Linked DNA regions of Homo sapiens: region 1 is linked to region 2. The links are contacts of gene promoters, found by promoter capture Hi-C in blood cells and fetal thymus (Javierre and others, 2016). All regions are on one chromosome and are shown on one strand. Each heading gives the region's core, a stretch centred on a gene start or on the middle of the fragment in contact. The rest is flanking DNA. Distances are from core to core; before and after follow the strand shown.

Region 1 (4,726 bases), core at 1,223-3,722, 250 kb before region 2:
GCCACCGTGCCCAGCTGACACCATTTTTTGAAGCAGAAAATTTTTTCTCACAATATTTTTACTCACCTCAAAGAAACAATGCTTGTACATTCTTACCAGTTCTAATAAAATTTCCTTTCCAATCTTAGGTACAAAAACTTAAACTCATTCAATTCCAATATGAAATATTATAAACAGAAATATGGTTTTTCTAACAAGTTTTGAACCAATGTGGGGTTCGAAAAATGTGGGGATATACAGAATAAAAACACTTTAGATAAATAATCTGAATTTAATTAGGATACAATATACCCCTAGGAAAAAAGGTAAATTAAAGTTATAAAGCTATTCATTTTACTAATACTTACACAAGTATTAATAATTCCAATACTAAATATCGGAGAGCTGCTACATATTAACCAAAGTTAAATACATACAGTGATTACTACCATATAAAATACATGCATATTTACAAAGATCAAAAGAGGATGTGGAATAATTATAATCCTGTTTTTAATTATAATCCTGTTTTCTAGCAAGCTTATTATCAGCATAATAACAAAGAAATACAAACTTTCCCCCTACATTTTGTCTTACTATAGAAACGGAATTCCTACCCACATTCTGTATTTACTTTAACTCCTTTCTCAAACTCTTCAATTCCATCCCTTTGAATTCCATATCTTCATAATTTGGTCAAAGATCTGCCATCCTTTTGTCTCCTCAAACAACCAAGAGAACTTTACGACAAAGGTTTTGCTCCAGTAGTTAAACATTAGTGAATCCCACAAACATAATTATTACAAAGTAAGTTTTTTATATAACACATGAAGAAAATGTATTTTCTTCAGCAAAAATCAACAGTAACTTAGGACCATTTTCTGGATGTTTTAATTCCTAGACCAAGAACCAATATCCTTAAAACCATCTTTTCCTGGTTGTGGCAAATGACTAAATATTTTATAACCCACTCTGCCTCCTATGTGTCCTATTTGGTGCACATTTACTATTCATATGAGTCATACTGCAATTTACTTTGTTTTTAAAATTAAGAATTTAAGAACCTCTCAAAACAAGTGGCAAGCCCTGGGTAACCCAGGTTTGCTGTAGGTGCTGAGTCAGGACTCCCGGCTTCATATTACAGGCACTCATCACTGGAAAGGCGACAGCCTTTGTTTCTCCCCGCCCTGCCAACTCCTTGCTGGCAGGAACATACTGGAAGACTTTTTTGTGCTGTTATAGAAGCAGCACAACACAGGAGTTGCCCCTCCCCCAAATGGATTTTTGACACTCAATCATACTTTGAGATTTAGAAATACCCTCTCTGGATGCATAAAGCAACTAATCAGATGGTACTGTGTGCTTCATGTTGGTGCACTCAGGCCATTAGCATTTTAAAGATTCACCCCAGAGAAAAGGAATGTAATCCAATGATCGGAGGTAGAGAAGTATCATTTGCATTCTACTCCTATTAGTATCAAGATGCTTTCCTTGTATCAACAGCCAAGTGAGGAAATTTGGTGTATATCTACAGCCAGCACTGTCTCTTCTCACATCACAGCTACTTCCTAACTAGCAGGTTCATCAAATGATTGTCTGTATTAGCTCAACAGACACGTGTGTGAATGTCAAATACACGTCTATTTATAGTGTCAAAGCATTGCCTGGAGTGAACTCACTGCTACTTAAACAAAATGCTCACTGCGGATAAGGGCAATCCCTGCTCTCAGATGTGGAAGACAGAACAAGGAAGGCCATGGAGCTGTGGGACATGACCTCCATAGTCACACAGAGACCTCCACAGCCACATGGGACGTGACCTCCATAGTCACACAAAGACCTCCACAGCCACACAGATGAGACCTCCATAGTCACACAGCGACCTCCACAGCCACATGGGACGTGACCTCCATAGTCACACAAAGACCTCCACAGCCACGTGGACGAGACCTCCATAGTCACACACGACCTCCACAGCCACATGGGACCATGGGACGTGACCACCATAGTCACCCAAAGACCTCCACAGCCACACAGACGAGACCTCCATAGTCACACAGAGACCGCCACAGCCACATGGACGAGACCTCCATAGTCACACACGCGACCTCCACAGCCACACGGACGAGACCTCCATAGTCACACAGCGACCTCCACAGCCACATGGGACGCGACCTCCATAGTCACACAGCGACCTCCACAGCCACACAGACGAGACCTCCATAGTCACACAGCGACCTCTACAGCCACACGGGACGCGACCTCCATAGCCACACAGCGACCTCCACAGCCACATGGGACGCGACCTCCATAGTCACACAGAGACCTTCAGAGCCACATGGATGAAACCTCCATAGTCACACAGAGATCTCCACAGCCACACGGGACGTGACCTCCACAGTCACGCAGAGACCTCCACGGCCACATGGGACGTGACCTCCATAGTCACAAAGAGACCTCCACAGCCACATGGACGAGACCTCCATAGTCACACAACAACCTCCATAGTCACATAGCGACCTCCATAGGCACACAGTAACCTCCATGGTCACACAGCGACCTCCACAGCCACATGGGACGTGACCTCCATAGTCACACAGCGACCTCCACGGCCACATGCGACGTGACCTCCATGGTCACAGAGACCTCCACAGCCACATGGATGAGACCTCCATAGTCACACAGCGACCTCCATAGTCACATAGCGACCTCCATAGTCACACAGCAACCTCCACAGTCACACAGCGACCTCCACAGCCACACGGGATGTGACCTCCATACTCCCACACAGACCTCCATAGCCACACGGACGAGAGAGACCTCCATAGTCACACAGCGACCTCCACAGCCACACGGAACGCGACTTCCATGGTCACACAGTGACCTCCACAGCCACACGGGACGCGACCTCCACAGTCACACAGCAACCTCCACAGTCACATAGACAAGACGTCCACAGCCACAAAGGACGAGACCTCCATAGTCACACAGCAACCTCCACAGCCACACAGACAAGATGTCCACAGCCACATGGGACGTGACCTCCACAGTCACACAGCGACCTCCACAGCCACACGGGACGAGACCTCCATAGTCACATAGCTACCTCCAGAGTCATATAGCGACCTTCACAGCCACACAGGATGAGACCTGTGTGGCTGTGGAGGTCCCATTCCTACGCTGGGCCTGCAGCTTGGGTGTGAGGGAAGGATGCCACCTAATACAAAGGACTAACCTCTCTCTTTCACTGACCATTATCACCTGGTATCAACATGTCATGAAGACAACTACTCCGTGACTCAAGAAAGACAGCCTGGCTTTCCTCAGAACTTGCATGTCAGCCGGGTGCAATGGCTCACGCCTGGAATCCCAGCACTTCGGGAGGCCAAGGCAGGAGGACTGTTTGAGTCCAGGAGTTCCCAAGGAGCCTGGACAACATAGGGAGGCCACACCTCTCTCTCTCTTTTTTTTTAAAGGGCCTGAGAGGTTTGTTTTTGTGCAACAAAAAACAAAAAAACCAGTTCTAAATCAAAACACAGCCTTTCTCTGAAACCTTTCTAGAAATGCAGTCTTCAGTTTTCTGTTGTCTCATTTAGCAACAAGCAGGACTAAAACATAGAGACACAAGACACAGAAGATGCACTTTCTTCAGGAGTTAGTTATTACAGACCGAAATTCAGGTCGTTCAATGGAAAAGATCCATGCCTTCACAACATTCTCCTCTACACACTACAGGAGGAAAATGATAAAAACAAAGTAACAAACAGAAACAACAGGCCAGCTGAGGCCCAAAAAGTGTAAGTGACAGGACTCCTAAGGTGTTTAGACGTAGAGGGAGAGTGAGCAAAACCAAAAACCAAACACGAAACCAAACCTTTCAAACTTGGGTGAGAATTGGTCCTTTCACATAAGATTCTTTGGCAAAGTATACACCACCCCACCTATACAAAAACTGAGACTTTATTTTGAAACACCAAGTCAAATGTATTGCCTGCTTGATCAGACATCAGTAATTTCACATTTGCTTTTCTTAGATTTCTATCCCATTTGCTTCCAATAGATCTGAGGCAGCTCATGCTTCAGACTCTGTGAGAGGCCAGAAGCCCACCTGTGCGTGGAGAGATGATCACAAGTAAGTGAATCAACTGATTCCACATATCCCCTGGTGGGGCAGCACCTCCAGAGATGCCCCTGGAATTTGCGATGTCTCATTCCAAGGAGGAACCAGTGACTGTCATTTTGGGGTAAGCACTCCTAGTTCTCAGGGTTTCAAGACAGACACCTAAGGCACCTACAAACATTGTTCATAATATCTAGTGATTGTTTTATAAGACATATCACTGTGTACAAGGTGTTGCAAAGTAATTCCGCCTTTTTAAGTAAAAATAATGAGGCAGCAGATATCAGACAGCCAAATCTCCAGGAAAAGAGTAGTAAGAAGCTTTAGCTGTAAGGTATCATATTTTATTAAACCAAAGACCTCTGAGAGTTCAGGTGGGACTCGTTTCTAGTCAAGACACAGTACAAGAACTGTATTAACTTTCTGCCTGAAATAACCACAAAATCAGGCAAAATATACGAAGCAACAGTTTTCGAAGCACTGAGTACTGGGCTATGAAAGACAGTGAATCTCAGAAAGATGGGAGACAAACAGGCCCCAACTGCTCAGCTTCCTGTGTGAAGAGCTTCCAGGTTGTGGTGTGGGGGCCCTGAGTAGCTGGGACTACAGGCATGCAACACCCCACTA
Region 2 (4,669 bases), core at 50-2,549:
TAGGTTTAAATTGCATTTAATGAAGAAAAGAACCACCTGATTAGTCCAGGTTTTTTCATCCTCAAAACGAGCTTCCAGGTAGCTTCACCATCCCTACCCCTGGCTCTGAAACCCCAAGCTCTGAAAGCCCTTGGCTCAGATCATTCTCCATTCGCAATGCATTCTCCATTGCGAGGGCTGCGGACAGGCAGGTTGATGGGCAGACTTCAGACACACAAATGGCTCCGCATGCAGACCCAGCAACCCTGAGAGAGCCAGTGTCACCAACGTGCAGTCATTTTGACTATCCCGGGCAGCATACGATCGCCGACAGCCTCTGAAAACACACCAGCTGCCAACCAGTGCCCCCCATGTCACAGCTACCACGGCTAGAAAGGAACACGAGGGCGGCTTACAAAAATCAGACGCATTTCCCCACATTTCAGCCCATGATGTCAAGCTTAAGCACAGATCACTGACGGCCAGCAGCTCCTCCTACCCGTGTGCTTGGAAACCGCATTTAATCTCTGCACCATTTCTTCCAAGGCCATCTCTTCAGTCCTCAGCCAAAACCTCATCCTCCGACACAACAAAAATGATCCTGGCAGATCCGCTTCCTCCGCACGGGGGGCGCCTGCGGGTGGGGCCGTGCGAGTGCGGAGGGGGCGCGGCGGAGGCGGGGAGGGGGCCACGGCAGCGCTTTCAGCCTCCAGCCGCCGCCTCCCTGCCCAGGATTGGTTCCGCGCCACCGGGAGGGGGGCGCGCGCTGCGCCGCGGGGGGCGGGGGGCGGCTCGGCGGAAGCGGAAGCGGCGCGCGCCCGCCCCGGTGTGTCACCACCGCGGGTCACCTGGGAGTCCTGTGAGTGCACCGCCGGGGTCACCTGGGAGCCCCGCGTGTCACCGCCGCGGTCGTCGGGGAGCCCCGGGGCTCACCAACGAGGTCACCTGGGAGCCCCGCGGGTCACCGCCGCGGTCACCTGGAAGTGTCACCTGTGTCACTAGGTCACCTAGTGTATCACACAGGTCACCTAGAAATTCGTGTCACCGCCAAGGTCACCTAGAAATTCGTGTCACCGCCGAGGTCCCCTGGGAGCCCCGCGGGTGCCGCACAAGTGCCCCCGCCCTTCCCCCCGGTTCCGGGTCTCCACGCCCTCCTGGTTTGCGGGCAGCCGCGAAGCCGCGAGTGGACCGAGCGAGTGCAGCTGCCTCCGCGGGGCCGCGCCTGGCCGCCGCCTCCCTTTACCTCCGGCCGCCCCGTGGCAGGTGTAGAAGCTGCAGAGGCCGCAGCAGCCCAGCGCGCCCCTTCCGTGTGGCCGCATGCCACCCGCGCCGCGCCCAGGTAAGCAGGTCCGTGGGTCGCTGGGTCCATGCGTGGGTCCGTGGCTGGCCGGGGATGGACCAGCCCCTCCCCGCAGGGGCATCGCCTGCCCAAGGACGCAGGACCCAGTGAGGGAAGCGCGCGCTGCAGGCACGGGGCTCTCCACCCTCGCCATGGTTGGCACCAAGCCACACTGTGCACTCGACACACGCAGCGTCCTGGCTGCCACCTGCAGATTCCAGCTCGTGTCTATGCAGGGCCATGGCCGCCATCACAGGGCCATATGCAAGAAACTCTCTGAGCTCTCCTCGCCCAAAACCGCAGCTATCCTTTTGTGGTTTGGTATTATAGGTAACATGCCCTTCCTTAAAGAAACAGTATTTCAGGCCTGTAGTCCCAGCTACTCCGGAGGCCGAGGCAGAAGCTGAGGCAGAAGCAGGAGGATCATTTGAGCCCAGAAGTTTGAGCCTGGGCAATGTAGCAAGACCCCCCCCCCCACCTCACTCCCCAATCAGTTAAAAGAGAGAGAGAGAGAGAGAGAATTCCAGCAGGAAGAAGTACACATTTCCACGAATGGTTTGGGAATTCAAGCATCATATGGCTGAGGTTTGAACTACAGCTCATGCCAATAACATGTGCACATGCGCCAGCATTCCAGCGTCCAACAGAGCATGCGTGCACCATTCCAGCATCCGGCAACAATGCACCAGCATTCCAGCGTCCAACAGAGCATCCGTGTACCATTCCGGCATTTGGCAACAATGCACCAGCATTCCAGAGTCCAACAGGGCATGCGTGCACCATTCCAGCATCCGGCAACAATGCACCAGCATTCCAGCGTCCAACAGAGCGTGCGTGCACCATTCCAGCATCCGGCAACAATGCACCAGCATTCCAGCGTCCAAAAGAGCATCCGGCAACATCCCGGTGTCCAGTGGCACATGTGCACCTGGACGTTCCAGTGTGGTGAGCTTTCAGGCACGGAGCAAGGCCAAAGGGATAAAAAGATGAAGGTGACGCAGTACTCCCCCTTATAGTGCCTACAGGCCTTATAGGCCAGACAGATCTGGAAATAAATAATTCATAATAAAAAATAATTACAGAATAAGAGGCATAATAACCAGATAGAAAGTATTGAATAAATCTGTAAGAAATGGCTGCTTTGTTTTTGTTTTTGTTTAACATGAGAAACGTATTGAGTATCAGCAGTTTCACTTGGTTCTACAGAATCTCTTTGGAGACCAGTGAAAGGAGAACTCTGGAAAGGCCTCAGAGTGGATGGGAGCCTCTCCCTCTGTGGACAAGCGTTCCCTGGGCTGCCCAGGGTGCCTACGGCGGCACAATTGCTACCTCCTGTCTACACATGGTCTGCAAAAAGTGCCCTCAAATGGGTCTGCTCCTCTCATTCCCTGTCAGTTCAGGGAACCTTCACCACTCCCCATCCCCCACCGCCCCCCCACCCCAACCCTGCCCCTCCAGCTTCAGGGAAAGCCTGTCATCAGGCAGAAGGGTCCTGAAATGCAGGCCCTGCCCTTTCCACTAGTCTAAGGCACAACACCCTCCCTGGTCCTCAGCCCACACGGCCCTAGGCCACACTCCCTCTGAGCACCTGCCCTCTTCTCCCGGCCGCTCTCCTGGCATGCAGGTGCCCTCCAGCCTGCCCAGCCTTGGGCTGCGTCAGGATCTACCGAGGACTTGTTAAGCTCACACAGCTGGGCTCTGATGGCTCCTTGCTGATCCAGGAGGTCTGGGATGGGGCCCGAGGATGTGCATTTCTAGCAAAATTTCCTGGGATGTTGAATGTGCTGGTCCACACTTTGAGAAACACTGCTGAAATCTGTTGCATCTTAAAAGCAAGATGAAAGGAAAGGGCCACACCCTCTGGCCTGTCCCGCTTCTCCGATCTCCCTCTTCACCCCTTGGGCATCTCCACACATGCTATTGGCTTCTTTCCTCAACCCTGTGCCATCCACTCTGTCCCCTGGCCAATATCCTCTGGCTGGCACCATGTCATGTTGGGGCACCAGGGTGGAGACCCTTGGTCTCTGTGGTCATTGGCTTTATTACTTGTCAACTTGGCTGGGCCACCGTGCCCAGATATTGGGTCAAATGCTAGGTTAGATGTCTCTGTGAAGGTATGTTTAGATGAGATTGACACTTATATCAGTAGACTTTGAGTAAGGTGTGTGACATAACGTGGGTGGGCCTCACCCAATCTATCAAGGGGCTTGAGAGAAAAAGACAGAGGTTCCCTGAGGAAGAGGGAGCTCTGCTCCCAGACAGCCTGGACTGCAACCCAACTCTCCCCAGTCCCCAGCTGCCCCTGGACCTTCCAACACCCACAATTTCAGGAGCTGATTTGTTCAGCTAAGTCTCTCTCTAGCTCTGTCTAGTCTTTATTCTGCCTTAAATTATAGCACAGATGATGCCATCTTTCCATAAACATCATTTAATACTTGCCTAAAGAACGATTGTCACCATTACACCTGGCATTAGGGAGCACTAGGCGCTCCAGGTACCTGCCAGAGTGCTCCCCATGCTGTAAACTATTGGTCTTTACAGAGAGCTGGGAGAAGGCACTGTTTTTCGCGTTTTACAGAATATGCAGAGAGGTTCAGCGACTTGCCCCAGGCCACACAGAGGCACAAAGATGCAGACCTGTGGTGTCTGCATCGGGGACGCCTGTAGTGTCGTGAGGGGAATGGCATCCACAGAGTTCCCGACAGGTAGACCCAGGACACTTAGGTAAGGTCCCAAGCCGTGTGTCCCAAGGGATGGGCTTCTTTCCATCCCTGGCTCGGCCTCTCTCCCGGGAACCAGAGGCGCCCCAGGAGGGAGGCTGAAGGTAAAGCGACACCTGGATACCAAACATCCTCATGGCGACCTTTCTGGATGATCAGCCACAAAGCGGAGGTGAGAAATGGGAGCTGGAGCAGGCAGGGCCAGGCTCCCAGAGCCAACCCCGAGGCTAGGGGAGCAGGGCTATGGAGTGGCACAGTGGCCCCGGCCACAGAAGGGCAGGCATAGGTGTTTCCTGCACAGCCTCACTCCATGTCTTGGGAGGGGTATCAGAGAGGGTAGAGACTGGAAAAGGACTGTGAGGAAATTCACAAGCTCATTGTGACTGGGAGAGCCCCGCGGGACAACACCCAGCATGTCAGGGATGCACTGGAGCCGTGGCCCCAGAAATCTGGAAACGAACCCTCGATTCCGGACAACCAGGGCTGGCTCTGAGGTGCAGCACTGAGCAAGGCTGGTGACTCCTGCGTGCCCAGAGCTCATGCTGCAGCGGAGGTGACATGGCACCTGGGTATGTGACAGCCTCCATGTGGTGACGGGAGGGCACCTGCTGGCACCTCCCCCTCCGGGGCC

The links. The method cuts DNA at HindIII sites, captures the fragments that hold promoters and counts their contacts. A CHiCAGO score of 5 or more calls a contact.
Region 1: a contact is called between a fragment that was not itself captured here and the fragment with the promoter of MCF2L-AS1 in region 2, in 5 of 17 cell types (naive CD8 T cells, total CD8 T cells, total CD4 T cells and 2 more). The highest score is 10.2, in naive CD8 T cells.

The regions. Positions count from the first base shown.
Region 1 is chr13:113,213,245-113,217,970 of GRCh38, reverse strand. All of the region lies in intron 2 of CUL4A (cullin 4A), which reads right to left. Among named protein-coding and RNA genes, the nearest start is that of CUL4A, 6.0 kb to the right of the region's middle. The HindIII fragment of the contact is 3,901 bases long and covers 522-4,422 here.
Region 2 is chr13:112,965,268-112,969,936 of GRCh38, reverse strand. MCF2L-AS1 (MCF2L antisense RNA 1) reads left to right here and starts at 1,299. Exons shown (of 1, transcript NR_034002.1): 1 at 1,299-2,453. It overlaps MCF2L (MCF.2 cell line derived transforming sequence like), which reads right to left and starts at 723. Exons shown (of 30, transcript NM_001112732.3): 1 at 479-723. The coding sequence starts at 557. RefSeq lists a silencer at 788-847 and an enhancer at 1,049-1,568. The HindIII fragment of the contact is 5,254 bases long and covers 442-4,669 here.